Regions from separate parts of the Homo sapiens genome. Here all the other regions are linked to region 7. Evidence: promoter capture Hi-C in 16 types of primary human blood cells and fetal thymus (Javierre and others, 2016). All regions are on one chromosome and are shown on one strand. Each heading gives the region's core, a stretch centred on a gene start or on the middle of the fragment in contact. The rest is flanking DNA. Distances are from core to core; before and after follow the strand shown.

Region 1 (2,700 bases), core at 98-2,597, 1.8 Mb after region 7:
TCCCAACCATCCAAGGAAGCAGCCTGTGAACAAAGTCGTCTTGCGTCCTCTAGACTAGTCCAGCATCTGCTGGACCCCAGACAATACCACATGAAACCCAGAAGAATCCCTCAACTCAGTCCTGCCTGAATTTCTAACCCAGTTCACTGTGAAATTTCTAATCCAGTTCATTGTGAAATGGAATAACACAATGGTCATTGTTTTAAGCCACTGTGCTTTGGGGTCGTTTGTTACACAGCAATAGATGCTCGAAACCGTTTTGCCTTACCACTGTTGATTTAGTTTGTGGTGCACGGCAATGTACATTTGCATCAACAGAATTGGGGGCAATAATTATGGATATAGATATAGGTATAGATATAGATACACACATAGACTTTCAGTTCAAATGAATCATCCATACCCTCTTGCTGAAGTAGCTGGAAAACTCATCCCAAAAAAACAGCTCCTGCAGCAACCTTCATTGGTCATATGCTGCCTGGGAATCTGTGCTATTTCTATAAATTGCAGTGTAAATGTAATCCAAGTCCTAGGCTATTTTTAAATTTATGAATCGTTTTGTCATGTGAAGTTGCATTTATAAGCCCACTATTTTTACATATAAATTTAAATGATAAGAAACTCATCAATAGGAAAGGTAGCGTGGTGTAGAGGTTAGGAGCTGGACTCTAAGGCCAGCTGCTTGTGTTCAAATCCTAACCCCTGGGTTTCCTCTCTGTGATGTGATGAGAACAACGGAAACACTTAACAGAGTCATAAGACTTAAATTAGTTGATATGTACACGTGCTCAGAACAGCACCTGGCTGATAATAAGGCCAAATAGGCTTATTGCAACTTGTTTATTTGTCCTCTCCAATTTCATATTGTCATCTAGTTCTTTCTTCACCAAAAGACGGGAGCATCATAGAAGGAGGAATGAGAGGTTGGCCCTAGAGTGTTTAACATAGACTTAGCCCATAGATGGCCTTCTGTAAATCTCTGTGGAATTGATTGACAGTTACCCAATAAATATACACTTTTCCTAGACATCTAACATCGTTTAAACAATTTCTTGGCCAGGCTTGGTGGCTCATGCCTGTAATCCTAGCACTTTGGGAGGCCGAGGAGGGTGGATCACCTGAGGTCTGGACCTCAGGTTGAGACCAGCCTGACCAACATGGAGAATCCCTGTCTCTACTAAAAATATAAAAATTAGCAGGGTGTGGCAGTGCATGCCTGTAATCCCAGCTACTCAGGAGGCTGAGGCAGGAGAATCGCTTGAACCTGGAAGGCTGAGGTTGCGGTGAGCCAAGATCACGCCACTGCACTCCTCCAGCCTGGGCAACAAGAGCAAAACTCAGTCTCAAAAAAAAAATAAAATAAATCTTCAGTACAGATCACTGCAAACCATCAAGCACATGGTGGTTTGGGCCCAGAGAACAAATGTGTCACACCCACCTGCGCCCGATGCCTTCTGCTCCAGCCTCCTTGCTGCCGTCCACGTTGAAGTTATCCATTGATGTACTCAGCAGGCCTCCTGCAGCACCCTGAAGCCTGGATACAAACAACTCGTTTTCTGAGCATGACAATCTCTGAATCCAAATGAGAGGCTTAGACCGGGCCTGGTGTGCAGGACTCAAATTGGCCATTTGCACAAACTTATCATGGTCTGAATTTGGGGAGAAAAACATAGACATACACACACACAAGAATGATGCTGGATCCATTGCTCTGGTGGTTGTAACATATCACTGGGCCCCCGCTCTCCTCCTCCTTTCTTTTTCTGCTGCTATTTTGTCTCCTGTGATTATCCCTGGGAATGCAAGGTCTCCTAATTAGCACTTGCTAATGAAAGAAACCTCAGAAACAGAAGAAGGAAGAGACGAGATGCTCTCTCTCCCCTTGCAGCTGACAGGACGCAGAGCCAAAGAGCCTGTTTAAATGGGTGCTAACCCTAGAGTATTTGCGGGTGTGTCGGGCTCCGGCCGAGCCTCCTGCGAAATCAGCTGCCCCATCCCCTTCTGCTTTCTGCTTTTACAGATCTGTCCTCCCAAACATTCTTGTAGCAAATGTGCCTCCAAATCTCCTGGGATCCCAAGATTAGGCTCTGCTCTGTGGAGTATAACCTTTAATCTCTACACAGCGTAGTTTGCCCTGGTAATCATATTTAATACAAGGTCCTATTTCCTGAAATATAATATGAGATGTGTTGGGTTCCCCCCAGCTTTGACACTTGCCTTTCTCCTTCCATGCAGAAATGTTTAATAAATAACTTTGATGAAGTCTTGAACTTAAGACCATGGATGTGATTAACTCCCCACTTCACTATTCACATTGATCATAAAAAAAATGGGATTTGAAAAATAGAGCTTTTAAGTTAATGAGGCTTTACATAAAGCCAAGTTAGTATTTTAAGACAGGAAAATGATGACTACATTCTGACCATCTGCGCCTTGCTAAAACCAAGAAGGAAAGAACGGTCAGACACATGGTAGTGGTGTGGCTCCTGGTTTCTCTGTGTGTGTATGTGTGTGTGTGTGTGCACATGCACTTCTAGAGCCTGGTGAAGTGCCTCCATTTCAAGGATATCCATGGGCATATATTTCTTCAAACAGACCCCCCTCTCTTCTCTACAATGGTGTCTGGTTCCCTGCCAGGGCTGTGCTTACTGAAAAAGCCAGCCTTTTAAAAAAAAACTTTTTGAGAATTTTCTGCATGCA
Region 2 (2,700 bases), core at 128-2,627, 1.9 Mb after region 7:
GCATGGCTGGAGCATTTGGGGAGGAATGCTTATTTATTTATTCATTTAAGACAGGTCTTGCTCTGCCACCCAGGCTGGAGTGCAGTGGCATGATCACGGCTCCCTGCAATTTCAACCTCCTGGGCTCAAGCAATCCTCTCACCTCAGCCTCATGAGTAGCTGGGACTACAGTGTTCACCACCAGGCCTGGCTAATTTTTTTTTTTTTTTTTGTAGAGTTGGAGCCTCACTTTGTGCTTTGTTGCCCAGGCTGGTCTCAAACTCCTGGGCTCAAATGATTTTCCCACCTTGGCCTCCCAAAGTTCTGGGATTACAGGTGTAAGCCACCATGCCCGGCTTCACTTACTTTCCTGTGTAGCTGTCCCTCCTTTAAGAGACCCACACCTTGAAGGGCTATGATACCTCCCTCTGCCTTTTCCCAAGCCCAAAAACCCTACTCACCTCTGCTAGCTTCCCAGACCACGACAAGCCTCAAGCTGGCCAGGCTGACCAGCTATGCCAACCCTCAGCTGAGAGTGAATCCTGTAGGTTTTTGGCAAGAGAAGCAATGCAACCTACCCTCAGAAGTGAAGCTGTCATTGACTGGGAATCTGCTTCAGGAACAGGTTTAAGAAGCCATTGAAAATTCCTTCAAATTGTCTTCTAATCTCCACTTTCCAGAAGCAACAGCACCTTCTCAGGAGCATCAGAGGGCCTCAGGGATCACCTCTGAGTCAGGAACATGAGAATGCCCCAGCAGAGGTCGCTGGCAAGGCTGCGGCAGGGAAACATCACTTGCCCTCTGAGGGGCTCAAAACCCTGCCACCTGCAGAGACTCTTAACTCTCCAGTGATGCCAGAATCTCTTTCTCATTCCCCAATGATGCCACAAAGAGTCTTTTCAAATCTAGCCAAGAATGAGTAGGACTGTTGGCCAAGGTTGGGAATTCACAGGGGTCTCTCTGCCAAAGGGTCATTGGTGGAATGCCTGCCAGTCTAGCATGAGCTCCAGTTTTACATCTGAAGGGTGAGGGTGAAGGCCAGGAGGTAAAGGTGGAGATGGGGTGGAGGGGGCCGGTAATGAAGTGTTGTTTTCTCTCCACAATGGGACCTTGGCACAAGTTCTACAGTGCAGGAGCTATGAAAGGCAAAATTTCACTGGGCTCAAAGAAATTCTTAGCTAATAATTGTAGATGGGGTAGGGTGTTGATGCTAAGAGATCTGGTAAAAAGCTCTCTTCTAAAACATTTATTTATTTAAAACAACAAATATTTTATTTACAGGTTGTATGACTTCAATAATATATTCTTTCTCTCCTATTCAATTTCCTTTATATTTTTTTCACCAGGGGATGAACACTGAATATCTTCAGTTTCTGGGTACTATGGACTGAATTGTGTCTCTGTCTCCTCTAATTTCATATGTTGAAGCCCCAGCTCCCATTGTAATGGCATTAGGAGGTGGGGCCTTTGGGAGGTGATTAGGGTTGGACAAGGTCAGGAGGGTGGGGCCCACATGGTGGAATTACCATCCTCATAAGAAGAGACACCAGAGAGCTCGCTCTCTCTCTCTCTCTCTCTCTCTCTCTCTCTCTCTCTCTCTCTCTCTCTCCCTCCCTCTCCCTCTCACTGTGCCATGTGAGGACACAGCAAGAAGGTGACTGTCTGCAAGCTGAGAAAGGTGACTTCACCAGAACCTGCCCATACTGGCAAACTCCTATCTCAGACTTCCAGCCTTTAGAATTTTGAGAAAATAAATTTCTGTCACTTAAGCCACCTAGTTTATGATATTTTGTGATGGCAGCCCAAGCTAAGGCAGTGGGTGTGGATGGAGAGAGGACAATTTAGCATATGTGTAAGATGTGGGAGGTGGGCAAAACATTGGAAAAAAAGAACCAATAATGAAAGTAAGAATAAAGAATGAAAGCACAAAAGCTAATGGAGAGCAAGATGTTCTGTCCAGTTGCTCTGAGGTTTTAAAAAAACAGAAAATACGCCAAATTTCTTAGGGCACTGGCTTTCATTTTTGGCTACAAATTAAAATTACCTGAGGGGATGTGAAAATAGCTACAGAAGCCTGGGCTCCACCCCAGACCACTGGAGAAGGAGCACCAGACATGGAGCCTGGGTGTGGGTAGTGTTTTGTTTTGTTTTGTTTTCCTTGAGACGGAGTCTTGCTCTGTCACCCAGGCTGGAGTGCAGTGGTGTGATCTTGGCTCACTGCAACCTCCACCTCCCAGGTTCAAGTGATTCTCCTGCCTCAGCCTCTTGAGTAGCTGAGATTACAGGCTTGCGCCACCACGACCAGCTAATTTTTGTATTTTTAATAGCGATGGGGCTTCACCATGTTTGTCAGGCTGGTCTTGAACTCCTGACCTTGTGATCCACCTGCCTCGGCCTCCCGAAGTGCTAGGATTACAGCTGTGAGCCACCACGTTCAGCCGGGTGTGGGCAGTTTTAAAGCCCCTCCCCACCCAGGTGATTAAAATGAGCAGGGTGACTTGTGAGTCAGTGTCCTGCTGCTGGGATTCTCAAACTCAAATGGGCATCAGAAATGCCTTGGGGGGGCTCATTAAAACACAGATTGCTGGGCTTCTTCCTCAAGGTTTCTCACTCAGCCGGTCTAAGGTGAGTATGAGAATTTGCATTTTCGACAAGTTCTCAGCTGATGCTGGTCTGGGGAACCACAATTTGAAAACCATCGTCTTAGAGGAATAAATGCTG
Region 3 (2,868 bases), core at 167-2,666, 1.9 Mb after region 7:
TAATATTAAATGCAGACACGACACATCCTTCATTAAAACTACCAGTGCCTATCTGGGACCTTCTGAGTGAACTCTGGGCCATAGAAGGCCTTCCTTGCTCTCCCCTGTTCACCTCTGCAGCCTCCTTTCTTATCAGATTCCCCTGTTCCCACTTTACTAAAGTTAGGCCAAACTGCCTGCTGTTCCCAGAGCATGCTTTACTTATTCATGCCACTGGGCCTTTGCATGTGCTTTTCTCTGCTTGGGATGCCTTTTCCAATCCCCCTGCTCCCAACTCCTGCTAGTGTTCGCTTAGCATTAAAGCCATGCTCAAGCAACACCTCTCCCAGGAGCCCGTGCCACCTCCATTTCGGCACTTGCTATCACCGCCAGTTTTCATGCAGGTCCAGCATTCTGCCCCCCGACCCCCACTGTCCTACAACCTGGAAGATCCTCTGGGCTGGGGGAGACATCCCCAGCATTTGGCATGTGGCCCCAGGAGATACCAAGTAAGTTCTCGTTGAATTAATGAACTACTTAATTGGTTTCAGCTACAGCCTATAGCAAATCACAGGATTTAGCCAGGAGAAATAGACACGACTCATCTCTGAACTCAATTGTTGCTTTAAAAAAAAAAAAAAGTTGTTTACACTGTTGAAAACCTCAACTGAGTTTTTTCTTTCCTTTAAGCATACAAATAAAGCCAGGTGAATCATTTCTTTTCCATTGTTTTCTGGAAGTCAGCTAGGCATACCCTGAGTCTTCTTACTTTAAACCACTGATACTCTTTAAGCAATAACCAAAACACTTGCTTCTGAAAGATAGTGACAGCCATGATTTACTGGGCTACTCAAATGCTCCAAGTATGTTCTAAGTGCCTTACGCGTGTCACCCCATGAATCCTCAGCAACATCGTAACGCATGGGGCATTATTATCCCCATTTTACAGGTAAGAAAAACGAGTCTTAGGAAAGTTAAAAGAGTCATTTGAATTTGCACAGATGCTGAATAGCAAAGCAGTGATTCAAACAAGGGGTGGTCTGATTCTAAAGTCCATGTTTTCTCTTCTGAGCCCATTCTTTATTGCTAAAAAACAAATACAATGTCTATCAGGCTTAGCCAATGGCCTGGAACAAATAATACTCCAAATAATACCACAAAGGGCACTGACACAGGTCCTTGCCCAGCTGTGTTCTTCTTATTCCGGATACCTAGACCCAGTAAGAAGTTTGCCCTTTCCCTGACCAGATTTATAGGAGAAAACTGAATGATGCCAAGGAATACCTGCGTCCTTCGTTAAAGGCTGCATCCAAAAGTCTCCGTGACCAGGTCTAGGCCTTCATCATGGGACAACTTTCCAACAAGGAGCAGGGGTCTCTTGCAAGTCTGTCCGCGGAGCTCCCTGCCACCAGCACTGTTGCCGCTGTCTTTGTTTACTGCTTGTCACTAAGCACTTGCTGCCCAGCGAGTGAGTCAACAAGGCCCCTTCCCTTTCCTGCCACCACTCTCATTCCCTGGGTCCTGCGCAGTCTCTGGCCTGTTAGCAGGCACTGCCACCCCAGCAGCCTGCGTCCTCAAAGCCAGTGACCCGTGAGAGAGCCAGGAAGAGCTCAAGTGGATTAGGTGCCACTGAAGGCAATGGGATTGCTGCTCAGCAGGGCTTTTACGCTGATGTCTCTTTATCTCCTGGCCCAATCAAAAGAAAGAGCTCTGCAAGGAACTGGGGGCAGCCCCAGAGCAGAGGCTTAGTGTCATCAACTCAAGAGTCCTCCATGCCCTTTCATAGTGTCAGACATTGGACCTGCAACCAACAGGACAGGGAACCATGTGAAAGCAGCAGGAGGAAATGATAACCTGGATCTGTCTGTGAGAAAGCAAGAAAAATGTGGTTAGAGAAAGGGGGAAAGGAATTCTTACTCTTTCTGGTGCTTGGATTCAGAAAGGAACCAGCAGAGATGGGGAACAGCAAGAAGTAGATCATAGCTCTGTAGTAGAAGGGGCAAAAGAACAGATCTCTCAAGCCCTTTAAATCAATAGCAGTGTCAAAACTGAGACGTATTTATTTAAAAAGAAAACATGAGTTTTTGCCTGACTACAGAATAAAATACTAAAATTTGAGGCCGGGCACAGTGGCTCATGCCTGTAATCCCAGCACTTTGGGAGGCCAAGGCGGGCAGATCACGAGGTCAGGAGATCGAGACCATCCTGGCTAACATGGCAAAACCCCGTCTCTACTAAAAATACAAAAAATTAGCTGGGCCTGGAGGCGGGTGCCTGTAGTCCCAGCTACTCCGGAGGCTGAGGCAGAAGAATGGCGTGAACCTGGGAGGCGGAGCTTGCAGTGAGCCAAGATCGGGCCACTGCACTCCAGCCTGGGTGACAGAGCGAGACTCTGTCTCGAAAAAAAAATCTGATGAAACTCAGTGCTGGTGAGGGCATGGAGAATGAGTACTCTCATATGCCAATAGTGAGATTACAGATAAGTGCAACTTCTCTGCAGGGAATTTGGTAATATTCATCAAATTTGTAAATGTACATATCCTTTGTAAACCCAGCTGCTAAGAAGTAACCCCATGGACATTCTTGCAAAAGTTCACCAAAGCATCTGAGAAAGGATGCTCTTTGCAGTGTATTTTGGTAGTAGCAGAAAACTGAAAGCCACTGAAGTGCCCATCAACAGTGATTATTGTAGTTCACACACAGTAGAAAACCAGCTATGCAGCTGTGTAAAGGAAGGAAGTAGATCTGTGTGTGCTGGCATATAACAATTGCCTAGAAAATTCTTTAAGTGACAAAAGGTATGGAATAGCCTAGTATGTTTCCTTTTATTACAAATAGGTACATAAAGACCAGGTATATTTACGTATATTTATGTATACATATTCTTTA
Region 4 (2,700 bases), core at 132-2,631, 1.9 Mb after region 7:
GCCTTTAGACCAAAGCTGATGTTTAAATGTCTATCTCCCTGACAAAGCTGCCACCCACTAATCTCCAGAGACCCAGGTGCTGAGTGGCACCGGAAGAAGCCAGGCGGGCTTTTCCTAATCCATTTACATCCTCACTGATCTTTCTCTACAGCCAGAGCTCAAGCAGGGCGGGTGTGCAGTGTCGGGCGCTAGATGGGGAGCACATAGAGGCACCCCCATCCCCCATTGACACACTAATCCAAGATCTACTCCCCAGCTGCCCAGCTCCCTGCAGACACCTCTGCTACCAGCCTCCTCCAGCCTCAGGAAGAGAGGCTGGTTTCAGGAGAAAGAGGCTTGGTCTGCTACCTCTCCCTGGGGCAGAAAGGGAGCCGCAGCAGGACCCCCTCAGAAAGCTTGACCTGTGAGCCGTCACTTATCACAAGGAGTCTGTGAAGAAGGGAGTATTGTTTCCATTTACAGACAGGAAATAAGTCCAAGGTAATCAAGTAAAAAGTGATGAATTAGAAGCTGAACTCCAGGCCCTCTCTCTTTTTCTTTTCTATTTCTTTTCTTTTTTCTTTCCTTTCCTTCCTTTTCCTTTCCTTTTCTTTCGTTTTTTTATCTCTCCTCTCTCTTTAGAAACTGTTTGAGACTTATGGACTAGGCATTCCTATTCCACCACATTTTTCTAACTCTCTATAGCCACAGTGAAAGGTTGCTTATTAAAGATAAGAAGGGGGAAGAAGAAGACCATGATTCTTATACAAAAAATCTCTAAATCCCAAAATAAAATATTGAATGGGTGGGGTTTTTTAAATTGCTTTATGACTAGACAAAAATGCATTAAAAGTCTTCTAGGCTGGTGTGGATAGTGAAGACCATTATTTCAGTACAATAATTCAATGGAGGGAGGACAAACTTTTCAACAAATAGTTCTGGATCCATCATGGAAAAAAGCTGAACATGGTCCTAAACCTTGCACCTTATGCAAAAATTACTTCAAAATGAATCATAGATTTAATATAGAACATAAAACTATAAACTTTCATGGAGGAAAATGGGAGAAAATATTTAGGACTCATCACAAACAAGGACTGCCCAATAAAATGAACAGCTGATTTCTCATCAAAAACCATGGAGACCAAAAGGCAGTTGGATGACGTATGGTCTTAACTAGCCACACCAGCCTCAAACACTTAATGCATTTTTTTCTAGGCACAAAGCAGTTAGAAAAACCCCACCCAATATCAAAATACTTGGAGGGGAGACTGTCAAACAAGAATTTGGTAGACAACAAAGCAATCAATCCTTCAAAACTGAAAGAGAAATTAAGACCTATTCACATAAACAAAAATTGTGCAAATTTGTTGCTAGCACACCCTTCCCTCCGAGAAATCCTAATGGAGTCCTTCAGACTGAAATGAAAAGACACTAGACAGTAACTCAAATCCACATGAAGAAATGGGAGCACCCATAAAGATAATAACATAGGTAAATGTAAAAGACAATAAAAATGTATTTTGATTGGAACCCTTTTTTCTCCTATCAGAATTTTTTTAAAAGGAGCATCCAACATCTGGAAAAGCACATAACTGATCGGGTTTGCCAATCAAGCACCCTTCTTTTTGTTAAAGCTAAGAGTCACTAGAGGCTTGAAGTTGCTGTTTTTGTTATTGGACGTGTCAGGATCACAACTTCCATATCAAATATAACCATGATCCAGGAGTCAGTGACAGGAAATTACTCATCACCCTTTCAATTAAAAAAAAAAAAAGTTGTCATGCTTGTTCCAATGCACAAGCACGATCCCTCTACAGAAGGAAATGTGTGCATTCCAGTTTTCGGCACCAACTCCCTGCCTGACCAACCACAGTGTTACGGTGGAATGTTATGATCTGTCCGCAGTGGCAAGTTGGTTTCTGAAGAGTGCAGGAAGCCTGGGAACCATCCAGAGCTCTGAATTTCCCTGGCTGGCCTCAGGACTACAGTGTGGGTTATGAATAATCTGCAAGCTAGCAGGTAGGCCAAGATTTGTATCGCTGCTAGGCAAAAATGCAAATTCCTTTTCTTGACCTGAGAGGTCTGGCAGGCAGATGAGCCCTGCCCACCTCTCCAACTCCACTTCCCACCTCCCTGTCCCTTGCTTACCACCCTCACCGTGTTCCATCACACTGGGCTTGTGATAGATTATGAAGTAAGATAATTCTCTACACTAGCCCACCAGCCCTTAACAACCAGCCTGGACTCACAATTAACATTGTTATCTCTGTGTGATATTGTGAACACTATTTCAAAGCCCACTGCTACTTCCTTGAACGACAATACACTTCCATAGCATTTACTGTACGCCAGGCACTGTTCAGAGTGCTTTATGTGCTAACTCATTTAAGCTTCATGACAGCCTTCTGAAATAGGGCTATCATCATGCCCATTTTAAAGATGAGGAACAAAGAGGTTAAGTGACTTGGCCAGTGTCACACAGCTTGGACTTGGGTTTACGCTCTTGGTCTCAGAGGCAGAGCTCTTCCCCACCATATTATGCTGGCTGTGGAAATGCTGTGAAGCACTTTATGGGGCCTGTAATCTCAGGCTATGAAATAGTCATTAGCCTTTAGCCATCACACCAAGATGCCTCTGGGCTCCTCTCCAAGTTTTTCATGGTCTGGTGGGCTGTATCATGCACTGAAAAGGGGATCATTAACTATGTAAAGGATGCAG
Region 5 (2,700 bases), core at 134-2,633, 1.8 Mb after region 7:
ACTCTTAACAACTGAAATACAGGGAATCCAAAAGGCCTGGAAACATAGGTGAATACACTTAATGTTGTCAATGACATCTTCAATCTGTAAAACAATAAAATAATGATGTCTACCTCCATTTGCTGTCTGCTAGGGAGTCTCCTAGGATGCTTCTCCTGGCCCCCTTTGCATTGCTATTGCTGGGTGTCCTTTCAGAGGGTCATTTCCTCTCCATGTGCTTTGGGCCATCTTACTACAAGGCCTGTCTTCCTTACAACAGGTAGCAAAGTTGAGATGGGACCAAGCACTCCTGGCTGCCAGCCACACATCCCTTGCTGCATTGAACATTCTTCAAAACAAATGGATTGTTATTTCTGAATATTCATCAAGGGGTTCAGAATTCATCTTCTCTGACCTTATAACTCCACCTGTGGGTATCTACCCTAAGAAAATATGCTGAATAATCAGGACAACCCCTTCTCATAATGCTGTTCAGTACAGATTTGTGGGGTGATTTGGGGAAACCAGCTCCTGGCAGTAAACGATTTCCTAAAAACAGTACTGTCTTAAAATTGATTATCAGGCAGCCTTTACAAAGGATATTTGTAAAGCATTTGTAATTATCAGGAGAGTGCATTTGTTATAATGCTAAGTGGAAGAAACTACAGGATACAATCATTATGATTTCAATAGCAAGAAAAAAATCTTTTAATAATATATTAACAACCCACAGCTATGTGGGAAAATGGCTCCATGGTTGAGGAAGTTAGGAAAACACTGAATTCACCTTAAACAGGTTATTCTGAGATTAATAAGCTAATATAGTTGTGAATCTACAGACAGACTATGGTATTCAGCGCTTCCCAAACTGGACTTTTGCCCAGTCTGTGGCTAGTACAAGGTGCTGAACTTTCAGAGTTAGTCATCAGTGAACTGGGGACCAAGAGCTAGCCTCCCAATAATGGTCTTCTCCTTTTTCTAATGAAAAACAAGAGCCATGAGGAGCTATAATTAAATAATCCAGTGATTGCTTGTAGAATAGTAACTGGGCTCTGTGATGGGCACTGAGGATCCACGGCCTTCCAGGCATTTATAGCCCAGTAGAAGAGATGGAAAATGTCCAGAAATGACGGCTGCACGAGGTGTCTTAGCAATATATATCAACAACGTTCAAAATGTTTATTACCTTCCACCCTGTAATTCCACTTATGAGATTCTATCCCTAAGGAATGAAGCAGAAATACAGCTAAGATTTATATGGAAAAGATGCTAACCTCAGTATTGTTTTAAATAGTCCCATATTGGAAACCATTTATATGTTAAACAATAGAGCATTGAGAGAAAAAATTAGAGTACAATATATGTTAATTCAAAAGAAGTTTTCAAATGTTTAGATCTATGGGATTATATACATACATAAAAGTGCATGTATAATATAAAGCTAATTTTAAATATATATGCATATACATATATATATGAATGCACAGAACAAAGAGAGAAGGATGAATATACCTAAATGTAACTGTGCTATCTCCAGGCGGCAGAATTATGAGGAAATGTTTACTTTTATAATCAGGGAGGGGGAGAAAACCTTTAACAAACCCTCATCCTAATGAGAGGCTCCCAATGTGCTCTGGGGATGATGACAAAGCCCTGTCTAGTTTATCTCTCTGTACCACAGGCAGGCAACACCAGCATTAACAACCCCAACCAGTTTACCAAGGGAAACTGCAAAAGCAAGAGTGCTCCTTGAAACCGATAAAGATTACATGTAAATGGAATCAAATCTATTCAGTGCTTTCTGTGAATGGGGAAAAAAATGGTTTTCTGTATTTTTGCTTCTCAGCCTGGTAGTTTCTTTTACAATCATTTTTCATCGTTCAACCAGGAAGCGAGGGACCCTGACAGTGAGATCAGCACTCAAAGTCAGGGTCTGGGCAGAGGCCAGAAGGTAGCGTCCATCCTGCAGACATCTGCCGCAGGGTTGGGTCCTTGGCCTCTAGATTGGGTTCTGCAGTTCTGTGGCTCTGTGACCACTCATTATCAGATGGCTTTGAAGTCCCCACTGGTCCCTCATCAAGGGAATGCTTCGTCCCCTTGACAGGGAACACGTGTGCAGCCCGGACTATGGAGTGCCCTGATCATGCTTCGCCAGTGCTTCTCAAATGAAACGCTTGCAGGCTACACCATGTTAGATACAGGGATAGTTCTGCAAAATGACCAGCTGAAAAGCAAAGGCCCAACCTCATGTTGGCTGTTCTGTTTTCAAGTACCCATCTCAATTAAGGGCAAGAAAACACAGATGGAATATTTCTACCTGACTTCTGTACAGGGAAATACACAAATCTCCTAACTTCCTTTTAAAACTGCTCCCCCAATCAAATGGCCCAGCTTGTATCCCATCCTGGGGAAGCTGCGAGTGTCCTCGCACTTATCCCCCAGCTGTATCTGCACAGGCAGAGTAGCCACTCTCTCCCTGGTCCCCACATCTTGACATAGAGTAGCTGGTATTGTTCTTGTTCCATTGAGTGTTTATTGAGTTGTGTGCCTGTGGGTAGACCGCAGTCCTCCCCACAAGACATGGGGCTTCCTGGGGACAAAGAGCATGTGCTTTTTGTCTCCATTTTCCAGTGCCTGGCCCACAGCAAGGGGAGATTGTGGAGTAGCAAAGACTATTCATCATTGTGTGTGCCCACACGGGGAGACTGCAGTGCCACTGTT
Region 6 (2,866 bases), core at 322-2,821, 1.8 Mb after region 7:
AAGTTACTTCAGCCAAACTGAGGTTTGTCTTGATTTGGCCTCCTAGCCTTGAGAGACTTTTAAAAGTCAGGCTGAGATTCTTATCAAAAGTTCTAGCAGAACAAGCTTCAAAGGAGCCTACGTGGTCAACCACTATTCTTGATGCACTTATGCATCAAGGCCAAACTTGATGAGGCTAAACTTACTTAGTAAACAAATTTGTCTTATTGTGATTATCTTTAGTAAAAATGGGGGTAACTGTAGAAAAGAAATTATGCTTCTAAAGGAAGGTGAAAATTGTATTACACCTGTTATCTGACTGTAGCCCTGTTCATTGCTTTTGTGTGTTTCTAATCTACCTGTAGACTGAATTGGACCCTGAATTCTTCTTGCTTCCTTCAGTATCTGAAGAACAAAGAACAAGAACTTCTCTGTTCCTAAAGCCCTATAAACTGAAGCTGAACAACAACTCAATGTAAAATTCTAGGAACAAGTCTCCTGCCTGATGTGCAGGCTACATAGAGAGTTCACCAAAATGCCCAACGCTGGTCTAGTGCTTCGAAATGACAACCAACACCTATGAAACAGAACAATGAACTCCAGACAGACTTAGCCTCAGAGCCACTCTTTCCAAACCTCCATGTTGCTTAAATGAAGCTGAAAGATGTTTTTACATCAACTCCTACTTGCTGGTCATTTCCCTTCAACGTGAGAGTAGAACAACCAGGAAAGGTCCATCCCAGTACCGAGGAACAATCAAAACCTAACCACAGGATGATCCAGCAGTGATGCTTTCAGAGCAATAACTTGATCAAAAGGGAGAAATGTAAACATTATCAATACCAAAATAAGTCACTTATATTTAACCCTACTAAAATGGAGCTGGGAGGCCATAAGGGAGGGTCACTCATGCTCTATGCCTATAATGAAAAATACCATAGAAACTTTTTTCCAAACCACAGCTTGCTACATGAGTCACACAAGGACAGCCAGCAGCACAAGGACAGCTCGCCACACAAGGGCAGCTCGCCACTCACACAAGAACACTTGCCTGACACTGTTTTCACTAATGAACTGGTGTCAACTCCTGAAATAAGCCCTTGGAACCAATCACCTTTTTGTTTCAAAACAACTCACATGTACTTCTCTCTTTGTCTATAAAGGCTTGCCCTTGCCCAACCTCCTTAGATGCATCTATAGTTCACTATGGCATGTGGATCCTAGATTGCAATCTCCTGCTAATTCCCAAATACACTCATTTTTTGGAGAGCCTGTCTCTCTCCACTGTCATTTTAGGTCGACAGCAGAAATAAAGAGTCTCTAATAGAACGTCAGAGAGGGAAGAGGGTATAGAAACCCTTTTTCTTGGATATTTAGAATGGAGTCTTAATTAGCTCCTAGGGTCAGGGTACTAAGTCCCCATTAGTCCTGCATCATTAGATGGAAATGCTTTTAACATTTGCTTGTTTGTCTAACTTCAGTGCCCTGAGATCAATCAACCAGATCCAGCAAGCCACAGAAACCCACATCTTACACTCATTATTTCCTGACAACCTTCTGCACTTGCTTGATGCTTTATCCATGAGTACTTGAAGCCCTCGTCATGCTGACTAATGTCTAGGCATACAAAGGGAGGCACCCAAGTCTCAAACAGTTTTCCCAGAAGAAACAGAGCTCAGGTACCCAGATACCTGGGTTACCAGAGGCACCAGGCCAGCTGTGAGCTGCCCAAGAGATGCTTACTTTTCATATACGCCAAGCCAAAGTAGGTGAGTTCCTCGAGGTTGGCAAAGGATGTCACGGCATTGAAGACAGCTCCCACTGTTGATTCAACATCACATTTTACCTCCAGGTGCTGCCCGTTCAGCAGGACCACACAGAGGTCCCTGAGAGCCAAATAGGATTTCCCTTTTTTGGTCTGAAAACAACAACAGTATCAATTATACTACAATTATAAGTCATTGAGCCTTTAGTGTGTGCTGGTTACTGTACTAAGCACTTTACACACATTGTCTCATTTAATTGACAACTCTAAAAGATAAGTATATTTACAATTCCTATGCAGCAGATGAGAAACTAAGGCTCAGAAATGGTAAGAGTCTTGCCTAGGGTTTGCACAGTTTGTAAGGCAGGAACTGGACTCAAATCTGAGCCTTCTGCCAGGCTCAGCAGGGGCCAGGAAAGCTGGGAGGCCTGTCTGACTGACGTCTTTCCCATGCGGAAATTCCAGCTCTCCCTTGGGCTCTGCTTCCTAAGAGGGTCACCCAGGGCCCTCATCAATGAATCATATGGCCCTGGATCAATCTGTCGATCTGACATTGTCTCCCCAGGTCCCAGCAGAGCACAGGTTAATTAATTCTAAACTTCAGAGAGAATTTGGGTGGGTGCAGATCCAATGAAGAGACAGAGCTGGAGCAAGGGGATTACCTAGACTCTAGAAATGGGTCGGCAGAGCCAAAGAGCCTCCAGAGTCTGCCTTCTGCCTCTTCATCTCCCACCACAGCCCCACCCAGACCACTGTTGCCTTGGTTCAGCCTCCTGGATAGTTCATCACCAGGCAGCCACCTGGGCCATTCTGTCTGTGTCTTTGCACATATGATACCCACTGCCCCTAGGGCTCTTCCACTCCCTCCCCATGTGGCAAACTCTTATGGATCTGTCAGGTCAGGCTCTGGAGCCCTTGTCTGTGGCTCTTCCTGAGTATCCCCATGTCCCAAAGCCCAGCCTGGACCTCCCCCAGGAAGTTCTCTCTAGAAGGCAGTCATGGACAGACACTAGCATATGTGGCCTTAGTGCCATCGAGACCATGCCTGTGGTCATACCCTGACACTCCTGGCACCCAGGGGCAGCCTATGCACTCCAGGGGCCAGAGCAGATCTGAGGACCC
Region 7 (2,806 bases), core at 148-2,647:
ATCTGGTCTGTACTAGACATGCCAAAGGAATGGTGTGTCCATATCAACAGAGGAGGGAGAGACAGAAGAGAAAGAGCTTGTCAGGGCCTGAGTCAGAGCGGGCTCATGCTGTGGGGCTAAGAAGCTCAAATGATTTCCAGAGACAGTGGGGAAGCTTTACAGGGACAGGCAGGGGAAGATCTTAACCCGGCTTTCGTAGGCCTCTGGCTTGAGTATAGAAGGTGAGTCTGGGACAGGGAGCCCAGCGCCGAAGTGTTGCAACACTATAGGGAGACATACAGACCAATTCCCTCCCACCTAACAGCTCTGTGCTTTGGGGTCCTGGGTTAGTTTCCTGGGAGAAGGCTGGCCTTGGCTACCTCTGTCCTTGACCAAGGACATCGTTTTAAATATTTGTGATGTGTCCTAGGCCACTGCATCTCTGTCCCTGTAGCGAAGAGAAGATACTGATTCCTAAGCTCCTACTCTGAGAACACAAATATCTGCAATACCTCGGTAAGCCCTAGGCCTGAGTGTGAGGTTGCAGGCACTTCCATGGCCCCATGCAGGTGTCTAAGTTCCCTCGTGGTATTTGGCCAAGGGGGGCCCTGTGTGATGCCCTAGCGCGGTGACTACCCGTGTTCCTGGCCCATGGGCATCTTCCACGGAATTCTGGGCTTAGCCTGGGGATTCATGCGGGCGCATCTCTGTGATCTGCTCTGGAGCAGGATGTACATCAGGTCTCTCAGACCTGAGTCCCTGGTGCCTGGCGCTCAGCCTTGACTGAAGTGCTCGGCCCACCCTGCTGGGCCAGCCAGCTCCTGCTCAGGGCCACAGCCCTGTAACCACGGCTTCCTCCCCAGGACTCAGGAATTCTCCCACTCCGGAATGCCTTGCTGCTGGGGTGACCAGGTCTTCACTTGTGAAACAGGAGTCAGCCACCTCAGCCCTGCGCCTGGCCTGGTGGAACATGGGTCACCGCCCCAACCTGGGGCAGCCGCCCCATCCCAACGCAGTTGCTGCCGCTCTCCATGCCTCCCTGTGCCCAGCTAACTGGGGGACTTGTCCCCTGGGAAAACCTGGGTACCCAGGCTGCCTTTGGTTTCAGCCCCTACTCCTCTTCCCGGGCTGCCTTTGCTCCCCGGAAGACCCCTTTCCCCGGGCTGTGTTCACATCGGCTGGGAAGGGTCCCTTGCAGACAGATCTTGGACGAGGTCGCGTCCCCCCTCGTGACCAGCAAACTCCTAAAAGCGGCCCTTGCCCCAGAGCCCCTGTAGCCTCCAACCGGCAGTCAGGAGGCAGCGCCGTCTCAGCGCCGCTTAGTGGCGCCAGGCGTGCCTGGAAATCCGCTTTCGCAGCGCCCCCTCGTAGCCGCCTCCGCCCGCAGAAAGGCGTTCCCTGGACAGAGAAGCGGGCGCGCGGGGGCGGGCGCGCGGGGCCTTGCCGGAGAACCTGACTCTCCGCAGCAGCAGTGGAAGCCGGAGTGACGCGTTGTGTTGAACACCAGTTTTCTGGAGCGCTGTGTGTTCTTAACAGCTGAGCAGTCTGTTTCTCCAATCAGGTTTCAAAGCCACTTCAACTGCACTGGCCCCTGTGGGTCACTGCTGCACCGCCCTGACCCATGTGGGTCCCTGAGGAGCGACCTGCCGGGGCCACCTGGCTGGACGAAAAAGACACACCTTGGACTTAAGCCGTGAGAAAAAAACTTCATCAGTAAGAAGAATGAATAAACAGACTAGGTTGAATCCATACAATGGAATGTTAGCAGACAATAAAAAGAAAATGAACTATTGATGTCCCCTACTGCACAGCAGAAGCTCTGAATCGTGTTCCTGAATGAAAGAAGTCAGGTATGAAAGAATAAACATTGTATGATTCCATTTATATGAAAATGAATCTGTGATTTAAAAATCAGACTAGTATTAGGTTGGTGCAAAAGTAATTGCGGTTTTTGCCTTTTTTTTTTTTTTTTAATAGTTGCTTTGGGGTTTATGGATGGAGTGGCATGGTAGAGGTTAGCTGAAGGGGGCATGAAATAACTTTTTGGGGGTGCTAGAGTGTTGTAAATCTTACAGTGGGGGAGGGACAGGAGTGCAGGCATTTGACAAAACACATTGAATTGTGAAATTTAAGATTTTTGAATTTCTTTGTATGTAAATTACCTGCCAATAAAAACATGACGAATAGAGCAGTTATGAGCATTTGTGTGTAGCTTTTTGTGCAAACTTAAATTATAATTTCTCTGATAAAAGCCCAGGAATGTGATTGTTGAGTAATATGGTAAGTGCATGTTTTTTGAGAAACTGTCAATCTATTTTTGGGAGTGGCTGTGTGTATCATGTTATATTCTCACAAGCAAGGGATGAGAAATTTGGTTTCTCTGCATCCTTGCTAGCATTTGGTTTTATCATTATATTTTTATTTCAACTGCTCAAATAAGTGTGCAGTGATTTCTCATGATCTCAATTTGCATTTCCCCAAAGGCTAATGATGTTAAATATATTTCCACATGCTGATTTGACTCGGCCATGAAATGTCTCTTCATGTCTATTGCCCAATTTCTTATCAGATTTTTTTTTTTACTGTTGAGTTTTGAGAGCTCTTTATGCATTGTAAATGTGAGTCCTTTGTCAGATATGCAGTTTGCAAATATTTTCTCCCCTCCATAGCTTGTCCTTTCATCATCTTAACAGAATATTTTGCAGAGGCAAAGTTTTTAATTTTGATGAAGTCCAATTTATCAATTCTTTCTTTAATGAATCGTACTTGGGTGCCATGCCTATGAACTCATCCTCAACTCCTAGGTCCAGATGATTTTCTCCTGTGT

The links. The method cuts DNA at HindIII sites, captures the fragments that hold promoters and counts their contacts. A CHiCAGO score of 5 or more calls a contact.
Region 1: a contact is called between a fragment that was not itself captured here and the fragment with the promoter of LINC00842 in region 7, in 13 of 17 cell types (M0 macrophages, endothelial precursors, M2 macrophages and 10 more). The highest score is 11.3, in M0 macrophages.
Region 2: a contact is called between a fragment that was not itself captured here and the fragment with the promoter of LINC00842 in region 7, in 6 of 17 cell types (fetal thymus, M1 macrophages, erythroblasts and 3 more). The highest score is 10.8, in fetal thymus.
Region 3: a contact is called between the fragment with the promoter of FRMPD2 here and the fragment with the promoter of LINC00842 in region 7, in 5 of 17 cell types (fetal thymus, M0 macrophages, monocytes and 2 more). The highest score is 10.2, in fetal thymus.
Region 4: a contact is called between a fragment that was not itself captured here and the fragment with the promoter of LINC00842 in region 7, in 10 of 17 cell types (M2 macrophages, non-activated CD4 T cells, endothelial precursors and 7 more). The highest score is 9.2, in M2 macrophages.
Region 5: a contact is called between a fragment that was not itself captured here and the fragment with the promoter of LINC00842 in region 7, in 5 of 17 cell types (M0 macrophages, M1 macrophages, M2 macrophages and 2 more). The highest score is 9.1, in M0 macrophages.
Region 6: a fragment that was not itself captured here is called in contact with the fragment with the promoter of LINC00842 in region 7 in 10 of 17 cell types (fetal thymus, M0 macrophages, M1 macrophages and 7 more); the score reaches 9.4 in fetal thymus.

The regions. Positions count from the first base shown.
Region 1 is chr10:48,191,246-48,193,945 of GRCh38, forward strand. It overlaps FRMPD2 (FERM and PDZ domain containing 2), which reads right to left. Exons shown (of 29, transcript NM_001018071.4): 16 at 1,439-1,649. Among named protein-coding and RNA genes, the nearest start is that of FRMPD2, 82 kb to the right of the region's middle. The HindIII fragment of the contact is 6,884 bases long and covers 1-2,700 here.
Region 2 is chr10:48,300,012-48,302,711 of GRCh38, forward strand. No RefSeq gene overlaps it. Among named protein-coding and RNA genes, the nearest start is that of MAPK8, 5.3 kb to the right of the region's middle. The HindIII fragment of the contact is 7,001 bases long and covers 1-2,700 here.
Region 3 is chr10:48,273,280-48,276,147 of GRCh38, forward strand. FRMPD2 (FERM and PDZ domain containing 2) reads right to left here and starts at 1,417. Exons shown (of 29, transcript NM_001018071.4): 1 at 1,264-1,417. The coding sequence starts at 1,288. The HindIII fragment of the contact is 27,288 bases long and covers 1-2,868 here.
Region 4 is chr10:48,252,320-48,255,019 of GRCh38, forward strand. The region is part of intron 1 of FRMPD2 (FERM and PDZ domain containing 2); the gene reads right to left. Among named protein-coding and RNA genes, the nearest start is that of FRMPD2, 21 kb to the right of the region's middle. The HindIII fragment of the contact is 1,977 bases long and covers 394-2,370 here.
Region 5 is chr10:48,208,570-48,211,269 of GRCh38, forward strand. All of the region lies in intron 13 of FRMPD2 (FERM and PDZ domain containing 2), which reads right to left. Among named protein-coding and RNA genes, the nearest start is that of FRMPD2, 65 kb to the right of the region's middle. The HindIII fragment of the contact is 8,361 bases long and covers 1-2,700 here.
Region 6 is chr10:48,230,393-48,233,258 of GRCh38, forward strand. It overlaps FRMPD2 (FERM and PDZ domain containing 2), which reads right to left. Exons shown (of 29, transcript NM_001018071.4): 10 at 1,723-1,897. Among named protein-coding and RNA genes, the nearest start is that of FRMPD2, 43 kb to the right of the region's middle. The HindIII fragment of the contact is 2,936 bases long and covers 104-2,866 here.
Region 7 is chr10:46,396,965-46,399,770 of GRCh38, forward strand. It overlaps LINC00842 (long intergenic non-protein coding RNA 842), which reads left to right and starts at 1,398. Exons shown (of 4, transcript NR_033957.2): 1 at 1,398-1,829. RefSeq lists an enhancer at 1-273. The HindIII fragment of the contact is 4,014 bases long and covers 157-2,806 here.